3 separate regions of the Homo sapiens genome follow, and regions 2 and 3 are each linked to region 1. The links are contacts of gene promoters, found by promoter capture Hi-C in blood cells and fetal thymus (Javierre and others, 2016). All regions are on one chromosome and are shown on one strand. Each heading gives the region's core, a stretch centred on a gene start or on the middle of the fragment in contact. The rest is flanking DNA. Distances are from core to core; before and after follow the strand shown. Region 1 holds the start of CRNKL1 (crooked neck pre-mRNA splicing factor 1). Region 2 overlaps GZF1 (GDNF inducible zinc finger protein 1). Region 3 holds the start of NXT1 (nuclear transport factor 2 like export factor 1).

Region 1 (2,966 bases), core at 345-2,844:
AGTTTTCCCTTTTAGATGAGTATAATAATAAACTTTGAGGCCGTCTAGGTAAAATTCTGACCAGAGGTTTTGTTTTATCAAAATGTGTAGCACATCTTATTAACAGCATTACAACCTGCATTTACAGAATTCTTCAACTTATTTAATGCCCCGGTGTATAACTGGGTTTGGTTTTACATGGCACTTCAAGTCAAAGGCAATTTCAGTAAGTTCTCATCATTAGACTGTAAGCTTCTTGAGGTCTTAGAAGCTTACAGTCTAACGTAGCTTAGAGCTGTGCTGTCCAACACAGTAGCTATGAGTCACATGTGGTGAGTACAAATTGAGGTGGACTGTAAGTGTAAAATACACATTGGTTTTGAAGATGAAGTATAAAAAAGAATAAACTACCTCATTACATTTTTTATACCGATTACATGTTGAAATGATAATATTTTGGATACATTAGCTCAAATAAAATATATATTATCAAAATTAATTTCACTTTTTTGCTTTGTTTTTACTTTTTAATGTAGATATGAGAAAATTTAAAATTTCATATGTGGTGTGCATTATATTTCCATTGGACCAGTGATGCCCAATAAAAGTTTATGTAGCTGAATTATAAAAAATGTTACTTAATGCCACATGTGGAGTAATGATGATAATGGTGATAGCTCATATTTAATAAGCACTAAGTGCCAGACACAGTGTTACTTGCTCTATATGCATTACTCCTGCGAGTCAGACAAATAGTTATGTAAAGGTCCAGTTCAAGAGAGTCATCCGGGCTCAAGAAAGACTGGAGGGAGGGTATCTGTAAAGGCTTCAAAGTCTGCCACATATTAAGCACTTGGTAAGTATTAGCTATCAAAGGAAATACCAGATAGTAAGTCTACTGTTTAATTAACTTATGATACTATACTACTCCTACCGTCTACTCTCGCCCTCCGCTGTCAGCTGGGCTAACTCCTATTCAGCCTTCAAGTCTCAGCTTAAAGGTCATTTCCTCAGCAAAATTTACTTTCAGGACCCCTTCATACGACCCCCTTATTCACGCCCATGGCATATTCTACTTTGCCTCTCGGTAACATCTAGCAAGGTCGTCTTTATACAGAAACTCGTGTTTTGAGTACTGCTTGTGGCCAGCGTACGAGCGTAGCTTCCCAGCGCCCAGTGCAGTGCCTGGCTCAGTAAATCTTCACCGAACCACCCCACTCCACTCCCCAGCAAAACCACCCCAGAACGAAGGCCACGCCAACGCGGGTCGTGCTCCGCGATGACAAGAGCCCGCGCCCCACCACCAGCTGCCCTTCCTCTCCATCTCTCAGGGTGAGCCTTCTCCCCGGCGGGAACACTCTCTCCCAACCCGGGCACCCTCAGGGCTGAGGGATGCCCCTTTCCTAGGCCACCTCCTACAAGGCCCCTCGCGATCGCCTACCTTGGCCACTTTGGGAATCCGCTGCTTCCCGGCCGCGGTGGAGGCCGCCATGTCTGCAGCAGTCGACCTCTGGACACCTGTCCCCGGCACGGACGCTAGAAATCGGCTCTGAGAGCTCACCGAAACCACAAAGCTTTCAGAAAACAAACAGGATCTCGGAACCGGAAGCGGAACTTGCAGGACTGACCTTTGACCTCTCGCTTGAGCCGTGACGGAGGCGGCACCGTTTCCATGGTGACCAGGCTGCGCGTCCTCCTTGCGGCAGCGCGTGGAGTGCGGCGTCCTGGAGCTGCGGATGAGGTGGGTAACGCCGTGCTGACTAGCAGCGACGCAAGGACTGCGGTGCAGGGCGTCCAGGGCGCATCCCCAGGTCAGCCTCCGGAACTGGGATGACCAGGCGAGGACGAGTGGCTCTGTCGAGCCGTGGCGCCCTGCAAGGGAGTAAGAACGGAGCTCCAATCTGGATGCTCGAGGGCGGGGGAAGAAGGGAGAGCGAGGAAACTACCATTCCCAGCATGCGACGGGGCGAGCTGCCGCCCTTTTAGGCTGCAATGCCTCGAGCATTGCATTCTAGTAGTCTCTGGGTCCACGCCCCCTCGTTTCTGGTTTCGGGACAGTTGTGCCCAAATAATTCTAAGGTGCCCAAATAATTAACTCTAAGGCTTGGAATTAAAAATAACAGAAGGTACTTTGAAGCCAGATATTAGGAAAAAATATAAATAGAGTAACTGGAAAACAACTCAGTCTTGTGATAAGAAACATGTTTAAATTCTGTGTGTGCCTTAATTACTCTAGTTAAATTTTCTTAGCCTCAATGTCCTCAACTATAAAACAAGGCTAATAACATCTGTTTCACTAGGATTAAAGACAAATGCTCAGTAGATGTTAGCTGTTATAATACTTAACCTGCCCTCAAAAACTGAAAAGCAAAGGTTAAGAGAATTTTTTTTAATAGACATTTTTAGAGAAGTTTTAGGTTCACAACAAAATTAAGTGGAAGACACAGAGATTTCCTCCCTCCACAGCTTCCTGCTATCAATTATTGTACCTCTTCCCTCCTCTAACAGCCTCCAACTCTTAAAAATATCCTCCACCAGAGCAGTACATTTGTTACAATCTTGAACCTACATTGACACATCATTATCACCCAAAGTTCATAGTTTATATTAGGGTTCACTCTTGGTGTACATTCTATGAGGTTGGACAAATGTATAATGACATGACTTGGCAGCTCATTTGTTAGGATAATTTCCACAGTTGCAAAGCTCTTTTGGTGTTTGGGGAAAATATATATTTATGTATGTAGTAATATCACGTCTACCAATGCAGATATTACTTTCAACAAAAGATTTATGCAGATTTCTAGAACTGCAGTCAGTTATAACCAACATCAATGTATTTGCCATAACTCTTTATTAACCATATTATTTAGATATTTTATCTCACTTTTCAAAATTTAAATAGAGAAGATTTTATATCACTTTCATAAAGCCACCTAACAAAATAAATAAATATTAAAAAGATGTTTCTTTGAAGTGATTTTCCT
Region 2 (2,966 bases), core at 138-2,637, 3.3 Mb after region 1:
AATCGTTCTAATTCTTGATTACCTAGTTTATAGATAACTGCTGGTCTTAATTGCAGAGTACAGAGAACTGAACCAGCTCCTGATATTGTAGTTAGCAGTCTTCCTGGCTTCTCACTCTGCCTTATATTTCCATGTGGGTTTACTTCTCTCATAACTACTTTCAAGGTATTTTTCTTCCAAGCTGAAATAAAACTGGGGCCACATATTTTCAGTCATTTCTTCCCTGTTGAATTGAAGCAAATCAGATTTTCTGTGGGGACCCTCAAATGCAACTGAAGAAATAGATTGTTGCATTCATTCCTCCCCACCCCCCATTTGTAGGCAGTAAACAAAGTATGACTGACAGATTGAACACCTGCAAAACTGCTAGCGTAATCTCAGCACATACGCAGCTAGGAAGTTTGTCATAAAATCAACTTAGAAATGAGATGAGGCTGTTCAGTTTGTCTTAAAAAAATCAGATTAGGTAAAAGCTGTCCTACCAAAGAGTCTAGCAAAACAATATAGTATTTTTTTGCAGAGGCATGAAAAATTAAGACGCTTTAGAGTACTTGAAAGTTGTGTAGTCATTTTATTTGCAAAATGAGGTGACTGTGGCAAATTATAGAACACAGAGTATTATTACTTTTGCCAGGTTTTTCTGACTTGATTTCTGTAATTTCCAGAAACCCAGACTTCTCATTTCCACACCTAGAGATGGAAACAGGCAAGTAACTGACATGTCTATTTCCTTGGGAGCATGTGAGAACATAGCAGTAGGGACCAAAAGTCTCAGCACACTTACCTCCGATTATGCCTTAAAGAGTTGATTGTGAAGAACCAGTAACTTTGTCCCAAATGCTTCTTTGGCTGTTTCATGCAGGACTTAATTATTGCTTTTAAAAATTCACAATGAAAAGACGATTCTGCTGTATTTGTTAAACGTTGACATTTGGTTCTAGGGCCTTGAGTATGTGCCACGTGCTTGTGAAATGCTATGATTCACATGTAACATTTAAACATTAATTTAAAAAGGGAACCTTGGAGAATTCTTTTGTTCACTAGTTCCTTTTTTCTCTACATTTTTAATTTATTAAACTTGCTGTGAAAACACTTTGATTTTCTAAGAGGAAGGTACTTTAAGTTCCAGAATGAACATGTAGCTGCACTATGCCAGAAATTAATGAGGGAAGACTTTCTTCCTAAGTGCTTATGTTTTAACTTATGTTAGTGAAACCACTACAAGGTGTTTCAGGCGCTGATAACATGCTTCACACCTGCCCTTGGAGGTCACAGTACTAATTTACTTCAAATTTAGTTATGACAGTGTCACTGTATCCTAGTTATGTTTACAGCACAAATAAATAATGACTGTCATACATCCAGAGGAGACCGAACCTGCCCAGCTGATGTACTGTTTTATGGAATAAAGTCACTTGATCAGAAGGAATTGAAACAATAGATCATTTTGTTACCTACTGGAGGGATTTTTGTCTTGAATTTGTTTCCTTAGAAATTCTACAAAAAAATGTTGTTAATAAATGTCTGCTTTGTAAAAGCAGTTTTGCAATTTTTTAAAGATCTATTTCTGTTATAATTTAGGTTCTGCAGAAATATGATTCTTAATTGAAACATATAATTTGCTTAATTACGTGAATAATGAAATGTAAAATCCGGGTCCATAAGCCTTTATTTCATACAGTCCTAGGATTAAGCTGTTTAACTGCTTGGATCCCAGTTGGTCTCTGGCAGTGGGATCCTGGAGAGGAGAAATCCTGGCCTCTGCTCATGCGCAGGCCACAACCGGGCTGGAAGTGCGGTTGAGCTCTCTGCCACTTTCTTCAATGTAAAAAGTAGGCATCAAAGATACGACTTCTACTATATACATTTCTCTGTCCCTGAGAACAGAGAAACGTAACCCTGTAGGGGACTGGTTACAGAGGACCTCCTGGAGCATCTGCCCCATTCCTCCAAGTCCAAGCACAGCCATGCTGAGTGGAAGCGAGGCCACCATCTGAGTGGATTGGTCCCAAGTGTGTAATGAGGAAAGTGGCCAGGTGCCGGCACAGTGCCTCTCCCAGAGCCTCAAGAAGGGCCATTTAGGAGCTTGCTTCAACCATTTTCCAACCATTTTCTGTGAAATGCTGTCAGCCCAAACTCCAAAGGGATGTGCAGCCTTTCGTTTTACCAAATTCTTTGCTGTCGTTTGGAAAAAATGGGCCATGTGGTGGAGACCTTTATTTAAGGTGATTTTTACAGAAATGTGATTTTGCTGTAGGTGATTATCCAAACAAGTAAATTTGAGTGTATAATTTAATTTTTAACCTGTTAAATAAACCTTGTCCCTCCAAGGAGTTCATTTTTGGGAAACAAGATGGGTACTTGTCAATTTAACCAAATGTCATGATATTCATGTACTCAGGAGTAACAATATTTCATTTGATGTGACTGAGAAAGGCACACAGGTCAGAGGATCATCTAGCACAGCAGTCCCCAACCTTTTTGGCACCAGGGACCACTTTTGTGGAAGACAATTTTCCCACAGGTGGGGGGACAGAATGGTTTCAGGATGATTCAAGCGCATTGCATTTATTGTGCACTTTCTATTATTATTGCATTGTAATATACAATGAAGTAATTATACAATGCACCATAATGTATAGTGGGAGCCCTGAGCTTGTTTTCCTGCAACTTGACAGTCCCATCTGGGGGTGATGGAAGACAGCAACAGATCATTAGGCATTAGATTCTCATAAAAAGCGTACAACCTAGATCCCGTGCACGCGCAGTTCAATAGGGTTTGCACTCCTATGAGACTCTAATGACACTGCTGATCTGACAGGGTGCACAGCTCAGGTGGTAATGTGAGCCACGGGGAGTGACTGCAAATACAGATGAAGCTTCACTGCCTGCAGCTCACCTCCTGCCGTAAGGCCCAGTTTCTAACGGGTTGGGGACCCCTGATCTATCACATCATGCTAAATGAG
Region 3 (2,966 bases), core at 191-2,690, 3.3 Mb after region 1:
ATAATGGTACCTCCCCCAATAAGTTATGTGAAACAAATTAAAGGGGCTTATTATACAGGAAACAAAAGCAGCACAGCATCCAAACTACTGAGCGTGCAGTAAATCAACGCATTCCCACTTCCATTCCATCCACGCTGATTTAGATCAATCCAAGTATCACTGCCTTGGGGTTCAAAAGGCCATGTTAGTTCACAAAGCCCCGAAAATGCTCTTTCACACTCTCTGCTCAGCCTCCAACGTGTCTTTTTAATAATCCAAACTTTCCACCTACTTAACTGAAGTGTGTGGGGGGAGAGGGTGCGGGGGGGAAGGGGTGGCCTATACTAAATAGCCCAACTGTTTTCCACTTGTCCTGAAATCTGAGACCAAGATTCTCTTAGGAATGCAAGCAAAGGGAGCCGACGGGACGCCAAGAAAGCACAGGTTAAACTACCTCACTTCATCTAGCCCCATTTCTCTCCTGGCTTTTCAATTAATTATTCAGCCTCAGACCAGCAGATGGAGCTGAAAATGTTGTCTAAAGAAATGAGGTTTTTCTTTTAATTTACAAGCTATAGTTTCTCATGCCTCCACACTGAATGGTTACATCCTGTTGAGCCTGTTCGTAAAGTTCAGTAAAAATCCAGTTCTCATTCCAGAACAGCTGAATCGTAGCTATGAACGCGGAAGAACAGAGTCCCAACCCCAGCCGGGCCCGGGTTTCCCGGGGCCCCTCAAGCCTCAGGGCAGTGGAGAGCCGCCGTCACGCCCCCGCCTCCCCCACGTCCCACCCTCGCCCCAGTCTCCTCCCACTTTTAGCTACTTTTCCCATCTGACTAAAACTGGCTTCCTCCGTGTCCACCAAGATGTCGCCTCTAAGTGGCCTAACTCCTAAAGAGCGCGATCGGCTCAAGCACTCCGCCACGCGGTTTCCACGGGGCGCGGCCGGCGTTGCCCTCGCCGTGGCCTCAAGCATTGCGGCGCCCCACATGTTGCCAGACGGAAGGCCTCGGCGGGGTCAGGCAGCTGCTGCTGGCCGTGACTACATCACTGGTGACGTTTCACGAGACTTTTAACTGAAATCACTCCAATACAGGCGCATGCGGGACGAGGGGAAAGCATCTCACCCGACCCCACACACCTTCCCCTCCCTCTCCAGCCTAGCGGCCTCCGCTCAGCGGAAAAAAAAGCAGACGCTACTCCCCGCTCTAGGTGCGGGACCTAAGAGGTTTGGCCCAATCAGGCATCCCACCTAACCAGACGGGCCGGAGTCTGTGGCCCGGTTGGACCAACGAAAACTCTAGGGCGGATTTGCCGGGATTTCTGGGAAAGTGACACTCCCGGAAGCTACCGCCTCTTATAAGCCACACATGGGCGGAGTTAGCCTTCCGGCCCGCAGTCCCACTGGCTGACTTCGCTGCCCGTCACGGGAATGCGGGAGAGGGCGGCGCCGGGGCGCTCGCGTCTGCGTGGAGACCGGCTGGCCGCGCGCGGGAAGCCGCGGAACTGCGCCGGAAAGTCCCCCGGCTCTGGGGCCCCGGTGACCCAGAGTAAGCCTCCAAGAAGGAGGAGGAGGAGAGAAAGGCGGCTCTTCCCGTGCCCCTACCAGAGGCTTCGGTGGGCCCACCTTGTGACCTCCGCGGCCGGCCCCTCAGTGGAACTGCGTCCCACGCGGGGGGCGTCCCGACCGTGGGGGCCGCGGCCCGCGCTGACCCTGGACGTCGCCGCGCAGGTACGTTGCCGTCCCCCGGCGGTCTGACCCCCGAGACAGCCCCTAGTGCATACCCCACGCCCTCCTCCATTGTCGAGAATGAGACACGGCTGTGCCTTTGTCCACGTGGTAGAGTTGCCGCCGCGGTGAGGCTCTCGCCTGTGCAAAAAGCGTGGCAGCGAATTCTCATCAACGAGGGGAGGCGCGTCCCCTCACAGCGCAGCTCTCGGGTCTGAGGAGGGCCGGGCAGGGCGTGCGTCTGTCTAGGTTTGAATTAAAGGCGACTCACAGGAAATAAGGCCATGCCACTGTGGTAGCTTTTCCCGTCCATCTCCGGACACTCGACGGTGTGGGTCGTGCGAGGAGGCGGCAGTCTTCACAGCCTCTTACTCTAGTCCTCACGGTCAGGTTCTTTTTCTGATTTGACACAGACAGCGGGACTGACGACCTCATAGGTAGCTGAAAACCGTAAGTGGAGATGGTCCTTCTATGGTGTGTGGGGGCGTGGCCAGTTGTTAGATTGTGTTTGGAAAGACAGCCAGGGGCGGAGAAGAGGGGCATTTCTGAGATGATGGGGGGACTGGTGCCATGGAGGGAGGAGGAGTGAGGTGGAGATCGGGAATTCCAGCCAAAGAGAAATGGGGTCCCTGGGAGAAAATTCCCACTCTAGCAGTCCTGGAGTTGTGCTCATGGAGACTTGCTTACGCGAGTACAAGGACAGCGTTGTATTGACAAAATTTCAGCCCTCAGTCTAGTCTTGTAAACGATAGATCAGGAGTGTACTTAACCGTCGTTACTTTGATCCAGCCCTAGGTTTCCCTTTTCTCATTTGTAAAATTGTTATAGTAATACCTTTTTCATCCATTTGTGGTAACATTTAAATGAGGTAATTTGTGTGAAGCCCTTAGCAAACACAGCGCTTCTTAGTCGTGGGTTCCGCGTGGGGTGGATTCAACCAACCTCAAATCAAAAATATTCTTCAGAAAAAGAAAAATGCGTTTGTACTGAACATGTAGAGGCTTTTTTTTTCTTGTCATTATTTCCTAAACTATACAGTATAACAACTATTTACATCCCATCTACATTGTATTAGGTATTATAAGTTACCTACAGATGATGAAGGTATATAGGAGGATGCTGCGCATAGGTTATATCAAACAGTACACCATTTTATCAGGGACTTGAGCATCTGCAGGTGTTGGTATCCTCGGGGGTCCTGAATCCAGTTCCTCACAGATACCGAGGGACCACTGTACTCAGTCCAGAGTACAGTTGA

The links. Contacts are between HindIII fragments. The CHiCAGO score rates a contact against its expected background, and 5 or more counts as called.
Region 2: a fragment that was not itself captured here is called in contact with the fragment with the promoter of CRNKL1 in region 1 in 1 of 17 cell types (total CD4 T cells); the score reaches 6.1 in total CD4 T cells.
Region 3: a contact is called between the fragment with the promoter of NXT1 here and the fragment with the promoter of CRNKL1 in region 1, in 6 of 17 cell types (naive CD4 T cells, total CD4 T cells, activated CD4 T cells and 3 more). The highest score is 13.2, in naive CD4 T cells.

The regions. Positions count from the first base shown.
Region 1 is chr20:20,050,872-20,053,837 of GRCh38, forward strand. CRNKL1 (crooked neck pre-mRNA splicing factor 1) reads right to left here and starts at 1,595. Exons shown (of 14, transcript NM_001278628.2): 1 at 1,421-1,595. The coding sequence starts at 1,471. CFAP61 (cilia and flagella associated protein 61) reads left to right here and starts at 1,661. Exons shown (of 27, transcript NM_015585.4): 1 at 1,661-1,720. RefSeq lists enhancers at 1,450-1,619, 1,630-1,929 and a silencer at 2,020-2,069. The HindIII fragment of the contact is 2,238 bases long and covers 1,552-2,966 here.
Region 2 is chr20:23,370,714-23,373,679 of GRCh38, forward strand. GZF1 (GDNF inducible zinc finger protein 1) reads left to right here. Exons shown (of 6, transcript NM_022482.5): 6 at 1-2,349. Among named protein-coding and RNA genes, the nearest start is that of GZF1, 10 kb to the left of the region's middle. The HindIII fragment of the contact is 2,979 bases long and covers 1-2,877 here.
Region 3 is chr20:23,349,351-23,352,316 of GRCh38, forward strand. NXT1 (nuclear transport factor 2 like export factor 1) reads left to right here and starts at 1,441. Exons shown (of 2, transcript NM_013248.3): 1 at 1,441-1,711. It overlaps NXT1-AS1 (NXT1 antisense RNA 1), which reads right to left and starts at 2,117. Exons shown (of 3, transcript XR_937384.2): 1 at 1,980-2,117. RefSeq lists enhancers at 442-1,314, 1,023-1,162, 1,082-1,376, 1,315-2,186, 2,243-2,292 and silencers at 733-862, 1,483-1,752. The HindIII fragment of the contact is 12,471 bases long and covers 1-2,966 here.